Linked DNA regions of Homo sapiens: region 1 is linked to region 2. The links are contacts of gene promoters, found by promoter capture Hi-C in blood cells and fetal thymus (Javierre and others, 2016). All regions are on one chromosome and are shown on one strand. The core of a region is centred on a gene start or on the middle of the fragment in contact, and the rest is flanking DNA. Distances in the headings are between cores, read along the strand shown. Region 1 overlaps SAMD9 (sterile alpha motif domain containing 9). Region 2 holds the start of FAM133B (family with sequence similarity 133 member B).

Region 1 (2,700 bases), core at 107-2,606, 520 kb before region 2:
CAATTTTTCAGATTTTGATCTCATGGTTGCAGTGGGTGAATAGGTGGCCTTTTGTGATCTCCTACATCACCCTGGAAGTGAGACTTCTTCGGTTTCTTCTAGAGTCAGTTTGGTAAGCTATATTTTTTAAGAATTTGCTCAATTAATCTCAGTTTTCAATTTATTCAGTTAAAGTTGGTTCATTTTTAAAGTTTCTAATATTGCTTATTTGTGCCACCTTTCTTTTTTATTTTTTGGTTAATCATTCCATGGATGTGTCAATTTTATTACTTTTTATCTAAACAGCTCTTGGACTTCACTGAGTCTCTCTTGTCATTTTGTTTTCCACTTTATAAATTCCTGCTCTTATCTTTATTTTTCTCATTCTTCTTATTTCAGTTTTATTCTGTTATTCTTCTTTCAATTTATTAAACTGGCATTAGGTTCATGATTTTCAGTCATTCCTCCTTTTTTAAAAAACTATACTTTAAGTTCTAGGGTACATGTGCACAACGTGCAGCTTTGTTACATATGTATACATGTGCCATGTTGGTGTGCTGCACCCATTAACTTGTCATTTACATTAGGTATATCTCCTAATGCTATCCCTCCCCCCTCCCCCACCCCACAACAGGCCCCAGTGTGTGATGTTCCCCAACCTGTGTCCCAGTGTTCTCATTGTTCAGTTCCCACCTGTGAGTGAGAACATGTGGTGTTTGACTTTCTGTCCTTGGCAACACTTTGCTCAGAATGATGGTTTCCAGCTTCATCCATGTCCCTACAAAGGACATGAACTCATCCTTTTTTAAGGCTGCATAGTATTCCATGGTGTATATGTGCCACATTTTCTTAATCCAGTCTATCAATGATGGACATTTGGGTTGGTTCCAAGTCTTTGCTATTGTGAATAGTGCCGCAATAAACATACGTGTGCATGTGTCTTTATAGCAGCATGATTTATAATCCTTTGGGTATATACCCAGTAATGGGATGGCTGGGTCAAATGGTATTTCTAGTTCTAGATCCTTGAGGAATTGCCACATTGTCTTCCACAATGGTTGAACTAGTTTACAGTCCCACCAACAGTGTAAAAGTGTCCCTATTTTTCCACATCCTCTCCAGCACCTGTTGTTTCCTGACTTTTTAATGATCCCCCATTCTAACTGGTGTGAGATGGTATCTCATTGTGGTTTTGAGTTGCATTTCTCTGGTGGCCAGTGATGATGAACATTTTTTCATGTGTCTGTTGGCTGCATAAATGTCTTCTTTTGAGAAGTGTCTGTTCATCTTTTGCCCACTTTTTGATGGGGTTGCTTGATTTCTTTTTGTAAATTTAAGTTCTTCATAGATTCCGGATATTAGCCCTTTGTCAGATGGGTAGATTGTAAAAATTTTCTCCCATTCTGTAGGTTGCCTGTTCACTCTGATGATAGTTTCTTTTGCTGTGCAGAAGTGCTTTAGTTTAACTAGATCCCATTTGTCAATTTTGGTTTTGTTGCCATTGCTTTTGGTGTTTTAGTCATGAAGTCCTTGCCCATGCCTATGTCCTGAATGGTATTGCCTAGGTTTCCTTCTAGGGTTTTTATGGTTTTAGCTCTAACGTTTAAGTCTTTAATCCATCTTGAATTAATTTTTGTATGAGGTGTAAGGAAGGGATCCAGTTTCAGCTTTCTATATATGGCTAGCCAGTTTTCCCAGCACCATTTATCAAATAGGGAATCCTTTCCCCATTGCTTGTTTTTGTCAGGTTTGTCAAAGATCAGATGGTTGTAGATGTGTGGTATTATTTCTGAGGACTCTGTTCTGTTCCATTGGTCTATATCTCTGTTTTGGTACCAGTACCATGCTGTTTTGGTTACTGTAGCCTTGTAGTATAGTTTGAAATCAGGTAGCATGATGCCTCCAGCTTTGTTCTTTTGGCTTGGGATTGACTTGGCAACGCGGGCTCTTTTTTGGTTCCATATGAACTTTAAAGTAGTTTTTTCCAATTCTGTGAAGAAAGTCATTGGTAGCTTGATGGGGATGGCATTGAATCTATAAATTACCTTGAGCAGTATGGCCATTTTCATGATATTGATTCTTCCTATCCATGAGCATGAAATGTTCTCTCATTTGTTTGTGTCCTCTTTTATCTCATTGAGCAGTAGTTTGTAGTTCTCCTTGAAGAGGTCTTTCACATCCCTTGTAAGTTGGATTCCTAGGTATTTTATTCTCTTTGAAGCAATTGTGAATGGGAGTTCACTCATCATTTGGCTCTCTGTTTGTCTGTTATTGTTGTATAGGAATGCTTGTGATTTTTGCACATTGATTTTGAATCCTGAGACTTTGCTGAAGCTACTTATCAGCTTAAGATTTTGGGCTGAGACGATGGGGTTTTCTAAACATACAATCATGTCATCTGCAAACAGGGACAATTTGACTTCCTCTTTTCCTAACTGAATACTCTTTATTTCTTTATCCTGCCTAATTGCCCTGGCCAGAACTTCCAACACTATGTTGAATAGGAGTGGTGAGAAAGGGCATCCCTGTCTTGTGCCAGTTTTCAAAGGGAATGCTTCCAGTTTTTGCCCATTCAGTATGATATTGGCTGTGGGTTCGTCATAAATAGCTCTTATTATTTTGAGATATGTCCCATCAATACCTAGTTTATTGAGAGTTTTTAGCATGAAAGGCTGTGGAATTTTGTCAAAGGCATTTTCTGCATCTATTGAGATAATGATG
Region 2 (2,700 bases), core at 180-2,679:
AGAAGCCTGTCTTCAGTCAGAGTCCCCAGCTTAAGTCGGGGGTAATGGAGGAGGAGGAGAAATGAGAGACTGGAGGCCTCATTTTGGAAAGTGGGTTACTGAGGAAGAATCAACACTTAGTAGGGAGCAGAACCACCAAGGACTGCATGTGAGAGTTTGGAAAAGTTTTGAGACAGAAGATGGTAGTTGGGAGCATCTGTCATATAGTGTAGCATGAAAAATGCAGGGAGGGAGGGAGGCAGAGATCGGGAAAGATGATTTTAAAGCATGTTCTTGTATGTAATTAGTGTAATTCCCATTTTGCCATTTCCAAGAGTCCGGAGAAGATCCTAATTGATTTTCAACTACTTCCTAATGATACTTGCTAAGATGAACCCAGAGGGGTCGCTTTATCTATAAATACTTACTAAATATGATTATCTTCTCTGGAGCCCAGATCATCTTCCTTAAAGTTGCAGTGCAGTAGTGCCAATATTACGATATGCTATGCAGTAAAGTTGGCCCTGTGTGTGTTTATTGCCCTTACGAGTTTATAAACAGGCTCCTTGACGATAGGGATTTTTCTTAATCATCTTTGTGCCCTACCCAGCTCCAGCTTCCAGCCACCCAGTTAGTGAAAACTGTACAAACTACATGTTCAAAAATTAGTGTGAAATGAATGCACAGGTGATGAATGAATGGGATTGAAATTAAAGGGTGATTTCGTTAGCAGCGTCTATGACAGCACTGCCTTTCCCCCCACCAGCTGATGGGCTCCGTGAGGGACCAAGGCTCTTTGGTCCTCACTTTGTCCCCAGCACTTGCACTCTGTCAAGCACAAAATAAGCATCGGGAGAATCTTTGTGTCCCCTCGAATGAGTATTTCAGTGTATCAAGAATGGAAGAAAGGCCAAGCGCAGTGGCTCATGCCTGTAATCCCAGCACTTTGGGTCGAGGCGGGCGGATCACTTGAGGTCAGGAGTTATAGACCAGCCTGGCCAACGTGGTAAAACCCTGTCTCTACTAAAAATACAAAAAATTTAGCCCGGCGTGTTGACGGCCGCCTGTAATCTCAGCTACTCGGGATGCTGAGGCAGGAAAATCGCTTGAACCCGGGAGGTGGAGGCTGCAGTGAGCCTAGATCGTGCCACTGCACTCCAGCCTGGGCGACGGAGCGAGAGTCTGTCTAAAAAAAAAAAAAAAAAAAAAAAAAAAAAAAAGAATGGAAGAAAGCAAAACAATCCAAGGCCAAACTGAAGCGAGCTGCCTTGGTGGGGCTCCGGTGCAGAAGCGCAGCGTCGCCTGCTCTTGGGTGCCTAATGAACGACCGGACTCCTGCAGGCGCTCCGCCAACTGCAGCGATCTCTGGAGCCGGCCTGTCCTCCACAGAGATAGGGGGCGCTGTAGCAGAGCGCGGCCGTCGAGTCCGCGTGGTGCCGCTCTCTAGGCGGAGTGGGGAGGCGGCAAGAGGACCTGCGGCAGGCCCTCTTCGGCAGTCTCTCCGGCCCGGTTTCCCTCGGCGTGCTACTGTGCGCTCGATCCAGCACCATGGGGAAGCGGGACAATCGGGTGGTGAGTACTCAGCCGGGAAAACAGTGGGGCGACGCAGGGCCCGGCGGCAGGACAGCGAGAACCCTCGCTGTTCCCGGCCGGGCCGGAGGGCAAGCGGCAGCCCTCAGACGTGGGGCCTGGAGACCCAGCACCCTCCGCCGATCCCAGATGCGCGTGCGCCGCGCACGCAGTTGGCGCTTTAGGGTTCCCAGCTCTCTCTTGCCCGCCCCTTTTTTCTTCCCTCACCTCGTCGCTCTTTCTGGCGCTGCTGGTTTGCACTCTTGCCTGCTGTACGCGGGCCCCCAGTGCCCACTTAGAACCGCGAGGGCTCGGGGAACCCCCCCCACACCTGGCCCCGCCATGTAACTCCGAAGACTTAGGCCCTTGGACGCATCCGACTCACCCGCCCCTTGGTATCGGCCGCCCCAGGTCCGCACCCCTCTCCTGCGCACCCAAGTGGGAGGGAGGCACAGAGGCCTCGACGCGGTCCCTGTGCCGGAGAGCCAGCAGCGCGCCTGGTTTTAGCGACAAGCAGGCTCCCGTTTGAAAATGGGATGGCAGCATTTGCTTTCGTGTCTCCAGCGCCCTGTAGGACCTGGCCCCCATAGACACTGTGAGGGAATGAATGGCGTGAAAATAGTTGGCTTTCGAGTCCAACACAAAACTGGAATGTCAGTTTTGTTCCGTCGGAAGTTGGGTGACCTAGAACAAGTTACTTTTCTTCTCTGTGCCGTCGTTTATAAAAGGGGATCATTATTATCTACAACCTTACAGATTAATTGAAATCACAAAAGGCAAGATGTGTGAGCGAGTACTGGGCATGAAAATTATTACTCTAGTGAATGAGATAAAAGAGATGCATAAATAACTTACAGCAGAAAGAGTAGGAAATGGTCCTTGATAGTTGTTAGAGATTCTAAAGGCATTCAAAAGAAAAGGTGCTTTTGAGAAGCGGAGATGGGAGGAAAGTATTCTAGACCGCTGGGGCGGGGAGGGGGCTGAAAAACTCAGGTTATGAATCAGATTGAATGAGTAGTAAACATAATGAAATAACAATAAGCTTAGGTTGCAGCCTGACAATTTCTGGGCTTGCCTGTGACAAAGTTTTAGCCACTGAGTAGCAAAATGAGGAAAATGCACGTAAAACGAATGTGCTACGTTTCTTGAACT

What was found. The method cuts DNA at HindIII sites, captures the fragments that hold promoters and counts their contacts. A CHiCAGO score of 5 or more calls a contact.
Region 1: a contact is called between a fragment that was not itself captured here and the fragment with the promoter of FAM133B in region 2, in 7 of 17 cell types (fetal thymus, total CD4 T cells, naive CD4 T cells and 4 more). The highest score is 8.5, in fetal thymus.

What each region holds. Positions count from the first base shown.
Region 1 is chr7:93,112,207-93,114,906 of GRCh38, reverse strand. SAMD9 (sterile alpha motif domain containing 9) reads left to right here. Exons shown (of 3, transcript NM_017654.4): 2 at 12-112. Among named protein-coding and RNA genes, the nearest start is that of SAMD9, 4.4 kb to the left of the region's middle. The HindIII fragment of the contact is 2,912 bases long and covers 1-2,700 here.
Region 2 is chr7:92,589,119-92,591,818 of GRCh38, reverse strand. It overlaps FAM133B (family with sequence similarity 133 member B), which reads left to right and starts at 1,429. Exons shown (of 11, transcript NM_152789.4): 1 at 1,429-1,551. The coding sequence starts at 1,528. RefSeq lists enhancers at 1,272-1,551, 1,642-1,701. The HindIII fragment of the contact is 8,062 bases long and covers 1-2,592 here.